Linked DNA regions of Homo sapiens: region 1 is linked to region 2. Evidence: promoter capture Hi-C in 16 types of primary human blood cells and fetal thymus (Javierre and others, 2016). All regions are on one chromosome and are shown on one strand. The core of a region is centred on a gene start or on the middle of the fragment in contact, and the rest is flanking DNA. Distances in the headings are between cores, read along the strand shown. Region 1 holds the start of CCDC24 (coiled-coil domain containing 24). Region 2 overlaps ST3GAL3 (ST3 beta-galactoside alpha-2,3-sialyltransferase 3).

Region 1 (3,888 bases), core at 882-3,381, 230 kb before region 2:
CCACCCTTCATTGTGTGTGACTTCAGGCAAATCACTTATCGCTTCTGAGCTTTAGTTTCTTTTCCTTTTTTTTTTTTTTTTTTGAGACAAGATTGTGCTCTGTTGCCCAGGCTGGAGTGCAGTAGCACCATCTTGGCTCACTGCAGCCTTGACATCCCGGGCTCAAGTGCTCTTCCCACATCAGCCTCCTGAGTAGCTGGGACTACAGGTGCGTGCCACCACGCCTGTTCAATTTTTTTGCACAGATGGGGTCTCACTATGTTGCCCAGGCTTCTTTTTTTTTTTTCTTAGAGACAGGGTCTTTGTCACCCAGGTTGGAGTGCACAGGTGCAATCATAGCTCACTGCAGCCCCGAATTCCTGAGCTCAAGCAATTATCCCACCTCAGCCTCCCAAGTAGCTGGGAATACAGGCATGCGCCACCTCACCTGACTATTTTTTTTTTCACTTTTTGTAAAGATGGGGTCTCCCTGTATTGCCCAGGCTGATCTCAAACTCCTGGCCTCAAGCCATCCTCCCGCCTCAGCCTCCCAAAGTGCTGGGATTACAGGCATGAGCCACTATGCCCGGCCTTTAATTTCCTCTTGTGCAAAATGGAGATTTTGCCCACCTCCTCAGGCTGTGTGAGGATTAGAATAAGAAGTTGCTGCCATCCACTTATGAATATTTTATCTCATTCAGTCCCAGCTGTAAATACCATTTGTGACCATCCTCTTCAGCTCTCCCTGCCTCCCTAGCCCAGCCCTCACTCCTGTTCTCTAGGCCAGAGGAACAACCGCCTGCTGGACATGGCTTCCTTTCTTCCCTCTTCCTACAAAGCTCTTCTCTTTCATCTCCCTGAAAACTGCTCCTCATACTACAACACGCAGATCAAACCACTTTCTCCAGGAAGCTTTGCCTGTCCCCAGGCTAGGCAGGTGTTTCCTCTGGGTTTCAGTAGCCCTCATGGGCTGATAATCTCTATCACAAGTGGCGGTGGAAGTGCCCAGCCCGTGACTGGAATCTCCTGCATGGAGCCAGGTGCAACCCACCAGTGGGCTAGGGCCCTCTGCCAAGCAGGGACAGATCCCTCTCTCCTACCATCACCTTACCTGGGCCCACCACCTCTCATCTGGAATATCTCCTGTTCTGGCAAATCACACCTGGGCTCCTCCAAGGCAAAGTGCAGGACCCTGGGGCTATACTGGACCCAAGCTTGGGCCTGGTCCCTGCAGAAGGTGCACAGGAAGGAAGCTGAGAGGCTCCTTTCTGGAAACCACAGAAAAGGCAACCCTGGCTCCTTGTTAGGGGCAGCGCTAGCCCACCTGGTATCTAGGGAAAGGGCCCAGGCCTGAGGCTCCCACCTGCCCTCACAGATGGCTTTGTGGCGGAGACCCTGGAGCAACTGCCGGAGCTCCTGGCGCAAGAGGTCCTTTAGGAGAGGCGGTGGTGCCAGAAGAGAAGAGGGGTCAGAGATGGGGCGGGAGCTGGGGGCTTGAGAGGATCGAGCCTCTTGGAGCAGTGCCCGTAACATCGCCACCTGCAAGGAGAGCTGGGATACCTTGCGACTGGGGAGGGGAGTGTCCGGAATGGTGGGGGCTGGGGGAGTGAGGGAGAGGGCGGAGTCAAAGGGGAGACCAGGATAGGATCTCGGGAGTTACCCGGCAGGGCCAGGGACCCGCAGAGGTGGGAAATCACCCGAGTCGTGGGGCAGGCCAGGGGCGTGGCCCACCTTCCCTCTCCCCACCTCCGCCCGCAGCTCCAGGCTCAGGTCCACCGCCGCCTCCCCCAGAATCCTCTTCACTTCGCGTCGCTCCCGGAGCGGAACGTGCTCCTCCACCAGCTCCCACAGCGAGGGGGAGTGCCGGAGCATGACCCACCGACGCCGCCGTCCCCGGCTCGGACCTACGGGCCGCAGGTCAGAGTGCGGGAGGTACCGCGGGCCCGCCGGCAACGCTCACCAAACCCCGCCCCTCTATGGGCCCCGCCCTCTCCCAAGCCCCACCCGTGCTCTGCCGCTGGTCCCCTCGGCTGGGATTGCCCGTTCCGGAACTGCCAGTCCTTGGCGCTCTCTTCTGCCCGGCTTTTGGCCGACTCGGATGCCGGGGGCCCAGAAACCAGGCAGTGGGAACCAGGGCCCTAGCCCCACCTCTTCCGCGTGGCCATCACCCGGGAAACCACGCCGCGACTCTAGGGCCCCGCCCCCTCCCGTGTTTGGTCCGGCGGGCGGCGCGTGCCGGCTGGGAGTTCAGACTCACCTCGGCGCTCCACCGAGCCCTGACCCAAGCACTTTGGGCTCGGCCCTGGGCACCTTTAGGCCTCAGGGAACGTGTTAAGACCTGAGAAATCTGGGTCCACGGGTTTATTACTTCGTCGCCTCCACTGTCCCGGAAGCAGTGCAAGGACAAACTTCCCCTTAAGGCCAGTGAAAGCCTAGGGAGTGGCAGCGCTTGGAGAACCAGGATGGCCCGGGTCAGGTTTACTTGTTGGGCCAGGTTCCCCAAGTGCCCTTCCACCACAACACACTCAGGGTAACCACGTTCAGGGACCCGACCCCCACCCCCAAACAGACAAGGGAGCTGCTCCATTCACGTTTTTTACTAAAGCACCCACACAAGTTTCTGTGCAATGTACAAACACAAGCCGGCCCTGGGGCTCCTGCCTCCTCTCTCAGACAGGGAGGCGGGAACCAGACTTACTGATCCAAGCCCCACCTGCCTCCCATGCAAAGGCCAACCCCAAGATCCCAGGCAGCGACACAGCATCCCCTCTGGTCCCCTCCTGGGGCTGCTCCTCAGCAGGGGGCGCACCAAAGCTTGCCCCCTACAATGTTGAATGAAAAAGGTTTCCCCTCCCCTGGGAGCAAGGGGGTTCCCAAGAGCTGAGAATTCCCCCTGGAAGAGACACTGCCCCCTAGACATACCTCCCACCCTTCCAGGCCCTAGGGGACTCAAGGGGGGGAAACTGAGGCACAGAGAGGTGGAGTGACCTAGCCCAGGCCACTCTGCGAGGCAGTGCAGGGGCTGGCCCGACCCTGACAGTGACTGGGGCTGGGCTAGGGGGAGGGGGTCGGGAAGGAGGGTTGACTCCAAAGAGGGCCACACTTGAAGAGCCTGCCCAGGCAGGAGGCCCCCCAAAGTGGGTTCTGAAACTTCCAGGTGTAGCTAGGGGGCCTAGTGAAGACCCTTGGAAAACAGAGCCCAGTCTCAGTCCTGGAGGTCCTCCACAGAGCAGCTGCCAGCCAGGCTGTGGTCAGTCCTCTGGCAGGCAATCTTCGGCACCGAGAGCCTCTGTCCATTAGTGTCAGCCCCGAGGGGGCCACGACGGAGGCCGCCCAATGTCCACTGTGATATTGGTGAAGAGTGGTTGCCGAGACACCTCCAAGACCTGGTACCGCACTGACCCAATGCCGTCCCGCTTCATGGTCAGCTTCGTGTTTTGAATCTTGGTAAACCTAGATAGGATGGAAATGGTCCACATCAGGGCTAACAACTGTAAACTAAAAATAAAATCCTACACCCCCCAACCAACTAAATGGACCCCCTTTTGGCCAAGGGGACCCCAGGGAACCTTAAAAACAGGGTTTCCAGCTATGATGGGAAGGGACGTCAAACATGCCATGTTATGCCCACGCCCTTTTGCAGCTTAGACACAACAAATGACCAGCATTAACGTCAAAGCAGAGATCACAAGACTGACAGAATGCATTGTTTGTGTCAATAAGATACCTAATTATAAATAGGATCTAAGGCCATGCCAGGCAAGGGTTAAGTCTTGCACCTCTGCACTTAAAGAAGAGACTATGCTCTAACTGCCGCGAGGATTTTCTTTTTCTGTAGCAGCTAAACAAGTACAGGACTTGAGATAACCAATATTAAAACAATTTGTATAATGTGGTAATATAAATAAT
Region 2 (3,636 bases), core at 189-2,688:
GTTACTTCCTGTGAGTCTCAGCTTTCAGTCTTTAAAATTCCCAGGCCCAGGCACCTCTCTTCCTAAATGCCCCACACTGCCTGGAATAAAGCTGAGTAAGTAACAAGCTGTCAGTCAGCAGTAATCCTCATAGACTGACAGAAGAAGTCATTGATATCTCTCCCTTGGCCTCTCTTCCTCTGACTTAAGGGCTACTTGGGTGGTATTCATGTGAATCCGGGCAAGGAGCTGTCAGGGCTATTTGAATGACTATTTCCTTGTAATTTCCTCCACTGGATTTTTTATTCCAGCTCTTAGAGGAGAAATAGGAACATGAATAATGGTGCTGGTCTCAGTGAAGAGACCTGTCTCTTCAAGCTTCTTTCTTCAAGCACAGAGAAGCTCATGTGCTTCCCTGCAGCACACATCTATCTCCATTGTTACCATGTGAAAGACATCAATCCTGTTATGGCTGAGGGAAAGAGGAGCTTGTTTTTACAGCTACATGGCAGGATCAGAAGCTTCTCAATCTTCTCCTATACCACTAAAAAAAAAGCGCACGCGGACGCGCGGACGCGCGCGCGCGCGCGCACACACACACACACACACACACACACACACAGACACACACAGACACACACATGCACATGAAATTGTTTTACCCTTTTTTGCCTTTCCAGAGCAAGGAATCCTTAAATTCTCAGCTCTGTATTCCTCCCTTCTTTTCCTTCTCTCTGATAAAGTTTAGCTTTCCTCAGCCTTTTAAAATGTCCCCAGGTAAGTAAAACTATGATACTATGATGGTGGCAATTTAAGTATTTTAAGTGTGGGGAACCTAAAACATACAGTTTTAGAAGTGTCTTTGATTCACCAATAGTGATGAAATGGAGCCACCACACAGGTATGAGCAACATCACAGTGTAGCTGTGAGGGCTACGTGGCCTCCTCTCAGTTAGGTGGGACCACACGACTGAGTACTGATCTGTGGAACGTGCGCTGCAGGGAAGCACATGAACTTCTCTGTGCTTGAAGAGAGAAGCTTGAAGAGAGAGGTCTCTTCACTGAGACCTGCACAGTTCTCCATGTTCCTGTCCATTTCTCCTCTGGGAGCTGGTTTAGAGAATCCAGTGAAGGACTCCAGGCCCTAGGGCCTGGGGGAGTCACTAGATGAAGTCTGTGGCCCTAAATGAATTAGGTAGAGCAGAATTCCTCCCCACCAATATAGAACTGCACCAGATTGTGACAGGAGAGAAATAACCTTTATTGTGTTAAAACCACTGAAATTTGGGGGTAGTTGGTTACACTAGAGTTCACCCTGACACTAAAATGATAAATGAAAAATGAAATTATTTTTATTTTTATTCTTAAAGTTAAAAATAACAAGTATTCTTAAGTATTGCTTCAAAGCAATTCTGTCTAAAGCTGTCTTCTATTACTCTACCAGCCCTTTCAGGAGAGCCCTTTGGGCACTATGGTGGAAGCTGTAGAGGCCACTCAGTAACTAAAGGGCTTATTCCCCAGCTGCTGGGATGGTGAAGGACAGAAAGGCCTCAACTGTCAGCCCTCTTCAGGGAATGCATCTGCTGAAGAGCGCTGCCTGGCCCACGGCCATGCCCCTTCCTGGGGCAGCCCTCGTCCAATGACGGGTCAGGAGGAGCTGTAAAGGCACAGCTCTCTCACTCTATGGCTTAGAAAACATGGATTATCTGAGCCCTAGTCCCCATGGGGTGGGCTGAGGCCTTTTACTGAGACTGAATCACGGCCCGATTTTTCCCCCTATACAATCTCCACATCTTTCCCTTTTCTTTTCCCTTCTTCCTCATTTCCTTTCTTTTCCTTCCAGGAGTATTGATTCCATAACCACTCCCTAATAAGCTTTTCACACCCTAATCTTTATCTCAGAGTTTGCTTCCCCTGGATCTCGGCCTGAGACAGGTACTATATCCCGATGCAATATTGTGTTGCGCGACTCTACCTCATTATATAGCCCAAATACTATATTTTCCAATCAAAAATACACAAAATCACAGTGGGATGGAACCTTTAAAATTGAGACTCTGCAAAAATTCAGAATGTACTATACTATTAAAAGACTGTTTATAAGAAAGTAAGAAATACCACAGACATTTTGAGGGCCCCTCTGAGAAAAGGAGCTCTGAAATTGTCTTAAGGAAAATATTACCTCCTTGCTTATAACCAAATAAATTATTAAATACATAACAGAGCTACATAAAAGTTATTAAGGATCTATTAATATTATTCATCTGTGCTGATACCTTGTACTATTGTAATTATAGCAGTTACTTTCTGAGTGTTCACAACACAGTGCTAAGAGCTCTACACACACTATCTCATTGAATAAATGACAGTTAAGAAATGACCCAAAGTCACATAGCCAGGACTCAACGTTAGGTGGGGTGGATTCCAAAGCCTCAACTCTTATGTTCCACTATGTTGTAATGCCTCTACTGTCTTGCATATTCAAGCTCTGAGAGAGGTTAACACTGTAAGGAGTATAGTTCACTAAGTAATTTGCAGGGGAGCCTGGAACATAAGGCAGATATAGAGGATTCCAAAACACACACTCTCTCCTCTCACCCCTCCATTGCCTCCTCTGATGGCTTAGACACTGGCCTGCCTTTGGATGCCCACGGTCTAGTAAGTGAGTTGAAGAACTACTCCATGCAGGATTTTGCCAGAAGTCATTCCAGCGCTAATCTGTCCTGTGGCAATCAAAAGGTTCTTCTGCCCTCTTGTGGCTCAGGGTGACTGCTACATATCAAAGCTCCATTAAAAAGCTGAAACACCATATAAAGGCACTTGGCAGCCAGGCACAAAACAGCAGAAGGCAACGCTGATTGGCTTGAAATGGAGCCTATTTAATAACCTAAAAATTTGATCCGCCACTCCTCCATGCCAACTATTGCTCATAATAAGAAAGTTAGAAAGAATAACAGAATACTAGAACTCATAGAAAAACAAACCCAAGAACCCAGTATCTCGTAATTGTAAGGAATATAACAACCAGCTACATCCATTTACAACAATGATAAAAGTTTAAAACATTATAAGCCCCAAAGAAAACTCCCCATCCTTGCTTTTTTACACCTAACAGTATATTTCAGAAATCTTTTCATATTAGTGTATACAGAGCCTCCTCATCTTCAGGTGCAGAGTACTCACCGGATGGGGGAACCATGATTTAATTAACTTGTTCTCTACTGGTAAACATTCTAATTGCTTCCAAATTTTTGCTATTAAAAACAATGCTGCAAATAAACAAAGTGCTGCGATGGGTAACCTTGTGCATATATCATTTTGCAAGTGTGCAAGAATCCCAGTAGGGGAATTCCTAGAAGTGGAAATGCTGGGTCCAAGGGCAAGGGCACATACATGCCTTTGCACGACTTCTTGAAACTTTTTCTTCTGTTGGTTTTCCCTCCTATCTGTCTGGCTGCTCCTTCTCAGGCTTCTTCCCATTGTGCCCTTCCTCCTGCTTACCCCTCCTTGGTTATCATTTCCCCAGGACTTGGTTTTTGGTCCCCTTTCATCCTATCTCCTCTCTCCCCAGCAGTCTCACCCACTCTTATCTTCCAGCTATCAGTTTTCTTCCCAGAAAGAAACCAAAGTTATTATTTCTGGGTTTTATGCTTCCAG

The links. The method cuts DNA at HindIII sites, captures the fragments that hold promoters and counts their contacts. A CHiCAGO score of 5 or more calls a contact.
Region 1: the fragment with the promoter of CCDC24 here is called in contact with a fragment that was not itself captured in region 2 in 1 of 17 cell types (endothelial precursors); the score reaches 6.0 in endothelial precursors.

The regions. Positions count from the first base shown.
Region 1 is chr1:43,989,842-43,993,729 of GRCh38, reverse strand. CCDC24 (coiled-coil domain containing 24) reads right to left here and starts at 2,131. Exons shown (of 9, transcript NM_152499.4): 1 at 1,984-2,131; 2 at 1,726-1,883; 3 at 1,343-1,518; 4 at 1,091-1,207. The coding sequence starts at 1,851. B4GALT2 (beta-1,4-galactosyltransferase 2) reads right to left here. Exons shown (of 7, transcript NM_003780.5): 7 at 2,562-3,432. The coding sequence ends at 3,282. RefSeq lists silencers at 1,678-1,727, 1,868-1,977. The HindIII fragment of the contact is 1,600 bases long and covers 1,196-2,795 here.
Region 2 is chr1:43,762,719-43,766,354 of GRCh38, reverse strand. All of the region lies in intron 2 of ST3GAL3 (ST3 beta-galactoside alpha-2,3-sialyltransferase 3), which reads right to left. Among named protein-coding and RNA genes, the nearest start is that of ST3GAL3-AS1, 37 kb to the right of the region's middle. RefSeq lists enhancers at 2,505-2,564, 2,595-2,684. The HindIII fragment of the contact is 836 bases long and covers 1,021-1,856 here.